3 separate regions of the Homo sapiens genome follow, and regions 1 and 3 are each linked to region 2. Evidence: promoter capture Hi-C in 16 types of primary human blood cells and fetal thymus (Javierre and others, 2016). All regions are on one chromosome and are shown on one strand. Each heading gives the region's core, a stretch centred on a gene start or on the middle of the fragment in contact. The rest is flanking DNA. Distances are from core to core; before and after follow the strand shown.

Evidence for each region. The method cuts DNA at HindIII sites, captures the fragments that hold promoters and counts their contacts. A CHiCAGO score of 5 or more calls a contact.
Region 1: a contact is called between a fragment that was not itself captured here and the fragment with the promoter of NDUFB7 in region 2, in 2 of 17 cell types (naive B cells and total B cells). The highest score is 6.3, in naive B cells.
Region 3: a contact is called between a fragment that was not itself captured here and the fragment with the promoter of NDUFB7 in region 2, in 4 of 17 cell types (total CD8 T cells, naive CD8 T cells, total CD4 T cells and 1 more). The highest score is 7.5, in total CD8 T cells.

What each region holds. Positions count from the first base shown.
Region 1 is chr19:14,865,661-14,869,119 of GRCh38, reverse strand. No RefSeq gene overlaps it. Among named protein-coding and RNA genes, the nearest start is that of OR7A10, 18 kb to the right of the region's middle. The HindIII fragment of the contact is 3,703 bases long and covers 1-3,459 here.
Region 2 is chr19:14,570,347-14,574,122 of GRCh38, reverse strand. It overlaps NDUFB7 (NADH:ubiquinone oxidoreductase subunit B7), which reads left to right and starts at 2,057. Exons shown (of 3, transcript NM_004146.6): 1 at 2,057-2,234. The coding sequence starts at 2,123. RefSeq lists an enhancer at 1,836-2,125. The HindIII fragment of the contact is 3,352 bases long and covers 940-3,776 here.
Region 3 is chr19:14,892,128-14,895,680 of GRCh38, reverse strand. It overlaps the pseudogene OR7A1P. Among named protein-coding and RNA genes, the nearest start is that of OR7A17, 7.8 kb to the right of the region's middle. The HindIII fragment of the contact is 3,700 bases long and covers 281-3,553 here.

The DNA.
Region 1 (3,459 bases), core at 561-3,060, 300 kb before region 2:
CAAAAGCATAGATTACAAAAGTAAAAATAGATGAATGGGATGACATCAAACTAAAAAATCTTCTGCACAGCAAAGGAGATAATTGACAGATCCAAGAGAAAAGCTGTACAATGAGAGACAATATTTCCAAACTAAACATCTGAAAAATGGTTATCTAGAATGTATTTTAAAACTCAATAGTGGGAAAAAATAATCTGATTAATAAATAGGCAACGACCTGAGGACACTTTTTTCAAAAGAAGACATACAAGTATACAATGGTCCATGAAAAGTGCTCAAAGTCACGAATTATCAGGGAAATGCAAATTGAATCCACAATGAGATACCACGTCATCCCAGCTAACAGGGCTATTATCAAAAGACAGGAAAAATAACAAATGCTGACAACGATATGGAGAAAGGGGAAATCTTATACATTGTTCATGGAATGTAAATTAGTATAGCCATTATGGAAAACAGTATGTACGTTCCTCAAAAAGTTAAAAATAGAATGCGACTCAGGGATCCCACTAGGTATTTATCCAATGGAAATGACAATAGTGTATTAAACAGATATCTGCACTTTCCTGTTTATTGCAGTGTCACAATAGCCAAGATATGAAGTCAATCTAAGTGTACCTTAGTGGATGAATGGATATTAAAATGTGGCATATGTACATAATGGAATACTATACAGCCCTGTGTAAGAAGGAAATACTGTGATTTGCAACAAAATGAAAGAACCTAGAGAGCATTATGTTAAGTGAAATATTCTAGGCACAGAAACACAAATATCACATGATCTTAATCATATGGAATATAAAAAAGTTGATCTCATAGAATTATAGAGTAGAACAGTGGCTACCAGAGGCTACAGCTGTTGTGGGAGGAGGAGTGGGGAAATGTTTGTCAAAGGATACAAAATTGCAGCCAGAAAAAATACGTTCAGCAGATCTATAGTATAGCATGAAGATTTTATATTTAAGGATGATATATGGTGTTTCTGGAAAATGTTAAGAGAGTGGATGTTAAGTGTTTTCACTACAAAAATGATAACTATGTGAGGTAAAACATATATCCATTAGCTAGACCTAACCATTCTGTAATGTATATATACCTCAAAATGTGATGTTTTTTGTGATAAATACAATTTTATCTGTCAATTTAAATAAATAAATTTTGAAAAATTAAATTAAATAATCTTTAGAAGGTGCTATTCTCAGGGCAACTTGCATGAAAAGAGCCAAATATATCTCTTAAGAGTAACCAGATGTTTTATACATGAAGAATTAAATGACAGCTCTTAACCTTTTTAAGAAGTACAAAATTTCTCATTGTTTTGGCAAAAGCATCATGATTTCAAGAAATGTAGGACTCACGGTTTTATATCAGAACAGAGTTCACCCCCTTGTTAAAGAGGAAAATAGCGATAATTCTGGAGATATCAAGGGCTGTGTTCCCATCACAAGTGAATACCTTGGAGATGCAAGGAACATAGTTAAGACAAGTTCCTTAGTTTAGACTTAGGAGAAAACCTTCCCTCGGGAATGAGGAATAGAGTAAGGCATTAGGAGGTTAGAACTCTGGAAGGCAAACAAGTCCATGGAGAAGGAATAATAAAGACTGGATTCACTGCAGGCTTAATATGGTGTCTTGGGAATAGAGAATACAGGGAAAAAATCAATTCAGAGCAGGGTAAAATCCCAAAGGAAAATGATCTGCTCAGGGTTGGAATAACAAGAGGAAATGCACCTAATGTGCAAATCTGTAAGTACCCCCTTGGCTGTTGTCACTTAGCATATGCAACCTTGGGCTGGATGGGACATGCTTGTGTTTTTTGGAGTCTAAATCTGCTGGCTTGGGCACCGATGCTTTCCTTTCTCCTACTGTCTTGTCTCGGGACAGAGCTTCCATCTCCACCAACAACCATTCAGGGAGGAATTCACACTTCCACATGGAGGCTTTTCTTTCAGAAAACCAGTCAAGGTAAGTCAAAGAGTCCAGTAGGTACTGCGGGAAAGGGTCAGGGAGAATGGGAGCTGTGAACGTGAACCTAAGGCTACCTGAGAGCCAAACCAACCAGTGCTAGAGTGGAGAGATTGTTGTGGTTGTTTGCTAACTTGCCTGACTAATTAATTGATTCAGGTATTTACTTAGGATACTAAAAAGAGACATGAACATTGAATTCAGCATTGGAGGATGATTGTTGACAATGAAGTAATAGTAATAGAAGCCCAATTAGAAGAGGAAATGAGATGATTAAAGTGGCTCCAGTAAAAGTAGCATCCGTGCCCAAGGATCTTTACAATTAAGTGAAGATGAAAAATAGGGTACTACTGTAATAGTTAAAGAAACATGAAAAGCAGCTCAACGGTTGAAGACAGGTTTATTTTGGAGAACAAACCTGAGAGGGGCTTCTGGCTGAGTTAGGTCAGAGGTACTCTCTTTCTTTTTTTTTTTTTTTTTTTTTGAGACGGAGTCTCACACTGTTGCCCGGGCTGAAGTGCAGTGGTGCAATCTCAGCTCACTGCAACCTCTGCCTCCCAAGTTCAAGTGATTCTCCTGCCTCCACCTCCCAAGTAGCTGGGACTACAGGTGCCTGCCACCACGCCCAGCTAATTTTTTGTATTTTTAGTAGAGACAGGGTTTCACTATGTTGACCAGGCTGGTCTCAAACTCCTGACCTCATGATCTGCTTGCCTCAGCCTCCCAAAGTGCTGGGATTACAGATGTAAGCCACTGTGCCAGCCAAGGCACTCTCTTACAGACTAAGAGTTTTTAAGGGTTCAAGGCGGGAGAGCTTATCACCGGCTTGGAATGTTTCTGTGCCTCTTTGTCTTGCTTACCTGGAGAGAGAGTTTTTGTGTCTGTTCCCGTACATCTTCTTGCAGCTGCAGGCATACCCCCCAAGTCTGCTTTTAGCTTCCCTATCTTAGTGCACCTAAAGGGAAAGGAATGTGCTTATTAGAGCCCACTGTTTTTCTGGGGCCCACTGTGTGAGTGCCAGGTTTGGTGGTTACCCAAGAGACTTTCCCCCTCCCTCTATGCCCGAGCTGTCTTATCTGTGTTTTACTGTCTGCTCTTTCTGGCTGCTTGTTGTTAGAAGAGAAGTGATTTTCTTAAGATGCATGAGGTTAGAAAAGGAGCTGGAACTTAAAGTGGCGGTTGTCCAAGATGATGGTGCTCCTGCTCTGTCAATTACCTGTGGAGAGATATACACTGAAGAGAGGGATTTGTTTGTCTGTTCGTTTGTTTGTTTTTAAGAAGGGGCATATTTGACTGTCTTTCCATATTGGTGAGAAAGATCCAGACCAATGAATTCCTTTCAAAAACTACCTGACAACAGCAGTCATGAGGTATACATTTTGTAGTATCTTCTCTCATGCTAAGTATTCAAATGAAATCAAAAACTTATTTAATGGGTGAAAAAGTGAAATACTAACAAACTTTGCCACTTTTTTTTACTAGTGAAGCTAAATA
Region 2 (3,776 bases), core at 808-3,307:
TTGGGAGGCCAAGGCGGGCGGATCACAAGGTCAGGAGATCAAGACTATCCTGGCTAACACGGTGAAACCCCGTCTCTACTAAAAATACAAAAAAAGTAGCCGGGCGTGGTGGCGGGCGCTTGTAGTCCCAGCTACTCGGCAGGCTGAGGCAGGAGAATGGCGTGAACCCGGGAGGCGGAGCTTGCAGTGAGCCGAGATTGCGCCACTGCACTCCAGCCTGGGCAACGGAGCAAGACTCCGTCTCAAAAAAAAAAAAAAAAAAATTAGCTGGCCGTGATGGCACCCACCTGTAATCCCAGCTACTTAGGAGGCTAAGGCAGGAGAATCGCTTGAAACCAGAAGGCGGAGGTTGCGGTGAGCCGAGATCACACCACTGCACTCCAGCCTGGGCAACAAGAGTGAAACTCTGTCTCAAAAAAAAAAAAAAAAAAGAAAGAAAAAGAAAAGTCTCTATTGCCAGTTGTCTATTCTCAATAGCTTGCTTTTTTCACTTAATATATCAGCAGCCACTTCCCCATGTCAACACATAAAGATCTAGTTGAGTAATTCTCCCAAAGCTGGTCACTAGACCAGCAACATCACATCACCTGGGAATTTTTATAGACAGGGTCTCACTCTGTTGCCTAGGCTGGAGTGCAGTGATGGGATCACGGCTCACTGCAGCCTGGAACTCCTGGGCTCAAGTTATCCTCCTGCCTCAGCCTCCCGAGTAGCTGGGACTACAAGCGTGCACCACCACACCCAGCTTTTTTTTTTTTTTTTTTTTTTGTAGAGATAGAGTCTCCCTATATTGCCCAGGCTGGTCTCAAACTCCTGAGTTCAGGCGATCCTCCCATCTCAGCTTCCCAAAGCTCTGAGATTACAGGTGTGAGCCACTGCCCTGGCCCATATTTTTTTTTTTCCATTAGACTGTTTTTCTGTTCCATTAGACTGTAAGCTTGAAAGACAGGAACCACGTCTGCCTTTCTGTCTGACCACTGGACCCAGCATACCATACAGTAGATGCCTAATACATGCTTTGTCAGACTGGGGAAAAATATATATTAGATATTAATATTAGATATTAATATATTTTAAAATTGTATAAAGATTGCATATATATATATAATTTATTTGAAATTTCAGCTTTAAATAATTGTTTTTGACCAGGCACAGTGGCTTACGCCCATAATCCCAACACTTTGAGAGGCTGAGGCGGGAGGATCCCTGGAGCCCAAGAGTTCAAGGTTGCAGTGAGCTATGATTGTGCCACTGTGCTCCAGCCTGGGCGACAGAATGAGACCCTATCTCAAAAAATAATAATATAATAATAACTGTATTTATGAATAACTTTTATTTAAATTAAATTTATCAAAATCTTTCTTGGACAGGCACTGTGGCTCATGCCCGTAATCCCAGCAATTTGGGAGGCTGAGGCGGGGGAATCACTTGAGGTCAGGGGTTCGAGACCAGCCTGGCCAACTGGCGAAACCCCGTCTCTACTAAAAATACAAAAATTAGCTGGGGGTGGTGGCGGGCGCCTGTAATCCCAGCTACTCAGGAGGCTGAGGCAAGAGAATTTGAGCCCAGGAGGTGGAGGCTGCAGTGAGCCGAGATCGCGCCAATACACTCCAGTCTGGGCGACAGGTACTGTGTCTCCAAAAACAAAAAATTCTTAAAGTGACTTTATGCAAAATTACATACATTAACGATATAATAGATATCGTGCCTTTTTTAAGAGAAATTTGAATGTTTTCAAAGAAAAAACTTTTTGGAAAATGATATGAAAAATAATTTTAATATGTGCTTTAGCCTCGGGCTACCAGAAGAGCCCCAGATAGGGTCGAGGGAGGCCTCAGTCCCACACCGTCCCCTTCTGCCCCGCCCAGATGGATTTCCAGGCTCAGGGAAGTCCCCTCTCGGGTCCAACCATATCCTGCGAAGAGACACAGCACCTGTCCCGCCTCCGCCTGTCCGCGAGGTGACGCCAGGCGGACCGGAGCGATCCTCTGGAGTCCTTCATCTCTATGATCTCCGCAGCTGCCTAAATGACCCGGAAGCTGTGTCTGACTGAGGGGTCAGTGGTTCCGGGTAGGAGCTAGGTGACCCTCGGCTGCTGCAGGGATCTGCAGCGACTGCAGCCATGGGGGCCCACCTGGTCCGGCGCTACCTGGGCGATGCCTCGGTGGAGCCCGACCCCCTGCAGATGCCAACCTTCCCGCCAGACTACGGCTTCCCCGAACGCAAGGAGCGCGGTGAGGCCCAGTGCGCAGGCGCAGCCAGAGGGCGTGGGGCGCGGGTGCCTGAACACCTGGCACCCCAGGGCTGGCACCCCAGGGCTGGGCTCTAACCTCAGGTGTTGTATCTGGGTTTGGGTCTAGACTAGGAGTCCACAGGACGTGCATGACCCCACCTCAGTGTGGAGGCGTTCCAGCCCAAGGGCACGGCTTGAGCAAAAGCCAGGGAGCAAAAGTGAGGCGACAAGTGGGGGTTCGGGCAGGAATGCGACGCGCAGAGCTGGGTCGAGTCTTTTTTTTTTTTCTTTTGAGACGGAGTCTCGCTTTTTCTTTCAGGCTGGAGTGCAGTGGCTTGGTCTCGATTCACTGGCAGCCTCCACCTCCCGGGTTCAAGCGATTCTCCTGCCTCAGCCTCGCGAGTAGCTGTGATTACAGATGTGTACCACCATGCCCAGCTACTTTTTTGTATTGTTAGTAGAGACGGGGTTTCTCCTTGTTGGCCAGGCTGCTCTTGAACTCCTGACCTCAAGTGATCCGCCCGCCTCGGCCTCCCCAAGTGCTGGGATCGCAGAAGTCAGTCACCACGCCCGGCCTCGGGCCAAGTCTTGGGGGACGTGGGGAGTCATGGGAGGGCAGGGACACGTTCATTGTACCCCCTTCCTGATGTCACTGCAATTGTGGGGTATGCACAAGGAAATAAGGAAGATTCGAGCTGCAAATACTGTCCTGCAAAGTGCTTTGTTTTGCTTTGAGACGGGATCTTGCTCTGTTGCCCAGGCTGAGTGTAGTGGCACAATCACAGCTCATTGCATCCTCGACCTCCTGGGCTCAAATGATCCTCCCGCCTCAGCCTCCCGAGTAGCTGGGACTACAGGAGCGCCCCAGGATGCCAGACTGATTTTTTATTTTTTGTAGAGTTGGGGGTCTTGCTGTGTTGCCCAGGCTGGTCTCAAACTCCTGGGCTCAAACGATCCTTCTGCCCAGCCTCCCAAAGTGCTGGGATTGAAGATGTGAGCCACTACGCCCAGGATGGTTTTTTGGTTCGTGTGTTTGTTTTTGCTTTTAATGTAGTAATATCACAGGCATACCGAGCACCAGCTCTGGGCCACGTCCCACATTAGGCACCGCGGATACAGCAGGGAACTGGAGGGATGCAGGCACTGTCTCCAGAGAACTCAGCACAGTGGGAAAGATTGTGGAATCAGGCAGAGCTGGGGGTGTCAAAGCAGGCTTCCAAGAGGCAGTGGCTGGAAACAAAGACGTGAAGGGTGGCCGGTCGTGGTGGCTCATGCCTGTAATCCCAGCACTTTGGGAGGCTAAGGCGGGCAGATCACCTGGGGTCAGGAGTTTGAGACCAGCCTGGCCAACATGGTGAAACACCATCTCTACTAAAAATATAAAAATTGAGGCCGGGCATGGTGTCTCACACCCATAATCCCAGCACTTTGGGAGGCCGAGGCGGGCAGATCACGAGGTCAGGGGATTGAGACCATCCTGGCCAATGTGGTGAAACCCTGTCTCTACTAAAAATACAAAAATTAGCCAGGGGCGTGGTGGTGC
Region 3 (3,553 bases), core at 881-3,380, 320 kb before region 2:
CTCTTTTAATCTGGTGCCTTGGATACAGAAAATGCAAGAAAAATAAAAAAGTTCCACGCAGAGCAATGTCTCATAGGGACACGATGTGCTCAAGGCTGGAGTAACAGGAGGAAGTTTGCCTGATGAGCAGGTACACAAAGCTGTAAATTTCTCCCCTGCTACTGTTCCTCAGCACATGCTACCTTGGGCTTGATGGGACATGCTTTCCTTTTGGAGTCCTAATCTGGCTGCTTATCATCTGATTAAACCTCACATCTATCTCCCCTAAACATTTGAAGCTTTATATGTTTATATAATACGAAATTATAACCTTAGATACTGTTTCCTCCCCACATTTTAAACATTTTCCTGTGATATTCTTCAATTTCCAAGAGGCGATTTCACAGTGAATTAGTGGTGCATCTTTATGTCAGTAAATTATTACTGTCATATTTTTCTATAAGGATTTTTCAGACTTTCTTTCTATGTTGATTCATGCAGCTGTTTTGAAATAACTATTCTTTTTTAATTTTAATTTTTAGTTCTGGGGTACATGTGCAGGATGTGCAGGTTTGTTAGGTAGTAAACGTATGCCATGATGGTTTGCTGCACCTATGAACCCATCACCTAGGTATCAAGCTCAGCATACATTAGGTATTTTTCCTAATGCTCTCCCTCCCACCACCCCCCCCGCCAGCAGACCTCAGTGTGTGTTGTTCCCCTCCATGTGTCCATGCATTCTCATTGTTCAGCTCCCACTGATAAGTGAGAATGTGTGGTGGTTGGTTTTCTGTTCCTATGTTAGTTTGCTGAGGATAATGGTTTCTGGCTTTATTGATGTCCCTGCAAAGGACATACACCATGGAATACTATGCAGCCATAAAATGAAATAACTGTTCTTAACCTAATAGCATCCTCACTTATATTCTATTCTCCATAAGATTTTAGTTCCTCATAAACCTTCTCTTTACACAAAGGTTTATACAAAGGTTGAGTAGTATGTTATGCATAACACATGTGCTTTTTATATTTGACTATAGGTTTTTTTGTTTGTTTGTTTGTTTTAAGGCTCATCTTCCCTTGTCCTTTCTCAGTTGATAAAAGGTATGGAAATATTTTGTGATTTTTATGTTAAAAATCGGTTCTTACCCAGGGGTGGTTTTGTCTCCCAGGGGACATTGAGCAATGACTGGGTTGGCTGTCACCCTGGGGAGGGTCAGTAGAGAACAGGGAAGCTGATAAACATCGTACAATGCACAGGACAGACCCCAGCACAATAAATAAGCTGGCCCAGAAGTTCCTTTTGTATTTCCTTTTTGAATAGTTGATTTTTATCATTTGCTCATTTTTTTTTCCATGGGGATTCTCAATCTATCAGTATCTTGACACAGAAAAGATATCACCATGTTTGATATTTGGTAAATTTCCCTTTGTCTTTTCTGATTTTTGCTGGGCCTCAGGGATATAAGAGGAGTTGGAATGTTTTCAAAACTAAGGAAGCCTTTTCTTCCTTAAGGTCTCTGAGGGACTATGTGAGCTTATTAGATTATTTTTCCCTTCAGTTCCAATCGATTTTCTCTCTCTGCCTCTCGGTTTTTTGTTTGTTTGTTTGTTTTTGAGACAGAGTCTCGCTTTGTCACGCAGGCTGGAGTGCAGTGGCGCTCGAGGTTCCATATGCATGAGAAGTTTTCAAACTGGAAATTCTAGGTACCATATCTGTATCTTCTTGGGGAAAGATAATTTGATATTAACAGCTTGCCTGGTATCCATTCCTTTCTAATACTGTGAGTGGGATGAGAAGCGTGAGGGGGTAACATGGCCCCAGGAAGCCATGGCTGCCTGTGTGGGTGCGTTCTCTGTGTGTGTGTGCACGTGTGTGGGTGCACAACTTTAGAGTGAGCACAGGTTTCAGAGATAGGGAACCTGATCTCTATATTTCAAAAGGTAACCCATCAGATAAAGGCCACATCTCAGGAAAATATCAGTAAACAGAATGAGCATGCATTGCAGTTCATGAAACACCTTTGCAGCCAAATTAAAGGCATCAGTATCTGGACAGAGGGACTCTTTGTGTCTTCAAATTTCAGCAGCTATGAGGACACTTCCTTCCCTAACATCCTCCGACAGCCCTCGCCTCTTGCTCATTCCCCGGCCACACTGTCTTCTTCGCAGTCCTCAAATATCTGAAAGAAGCACATTCCTCGGGGTCTTTCATTGATCATTTTGCTCCATTGCACAAACTTCTGCAGGGAACGTAGTGCCCTCCACCCTGTCTTCATTATGGGCTCTCTTCATTTGTCACCTTCTCTGCTGGTCCTGCCTGAACACCCTGGAAAATCTATTACCCCATCCACTCTTTCCTTCTAACCTCCTTCTTCATAGGATGCATCACCATCTGATATTGAGGATGGCATTTTAAAAACATACTTGTATTTTTCATTCATCATTAAATTGTAGGAAGTTATTTATTTATTTATTATTTTATTTTATTATTATTTTTTAAAGACAGGGTCTCACTCTGTTGCCCAGGCTGGAGTGCAGTGGCATGATCTCGGCTCACTACAATCTCCACCTCCTGGGTTCAAGTGATTCTCATGCCTTAGCCTCCCAAGTAGCTGGGATTACAGGCATGCGCCAGCACGCCCGGCTAATTTTTTTTGTATTTTTAGCTGAGACCGGTTTTTGCCATGTTGGCCAGGCTGGTCTCGAACTCCTGACTTCAGGTGATCCGTCCACCTTGGCCTCCGCGAGTGATGAGATTACAGGCGTGAGCCACTGCAGCCAGCCCATATTAACTTCTTGACTGTAGAATATAAGTGAGAATATTTCTGATATGTTTGTAATGCATGCTTGTGTCATGTTCTCTTTCTCTCTCTTTTGGAAGTCACATCAACAAGATGAAACCAGGGAATGAGACACAAATTTCACAATTCCTTCTCCTGGGACTTTCAGAGGAACCAGAATTGCAGCCCTTCCTCTTTGGGCTATTTCTGTCCATGTACCTGGTCACCGTGCTCGGGAACCTGCTCATCATCCTGGCCACAATCTCAGACTCCCACCTCCACACCCCCATGTACTTCTTCCTCTCCAACCTGTCCTTTGCAGACATCTGTTTTGTGTCTACCACTGTCCCAAAGATGCTGGTGAACATCCAGACACAGAGCAGAGTCATCACCTATGCAGACTGCATCACCCAGATGTGCTTTTTTATACTCTTTGTAGTGTTGGACAGCTTACTCCTGACTGTGATGGCCTATGACCGGTTTGTGGCCATCTGTCACCCCCTGCACTACACAGTCATTATGAACTCCTGGCTCTGTGGACTGCTGGTTCTGGTGTCCTGGATCGTGAGCATCCTATATTCTCTGTTACAAAGCATAATGGCATTGCAGCTGTCCTTCTGTACAGAATTGAAAATCCCTCATTTTTTCTGTGAACTTAATCAGGTCATCCACCTTGCCTGTTCCGACACTTTTATTAATGACATGATGATGAATTTTACAAGTGTGCTGCTGGGTGGGGGATGCCTCGCTGGAATATTTTACTTACTTTAAGATACTTTGTTGCATATGTT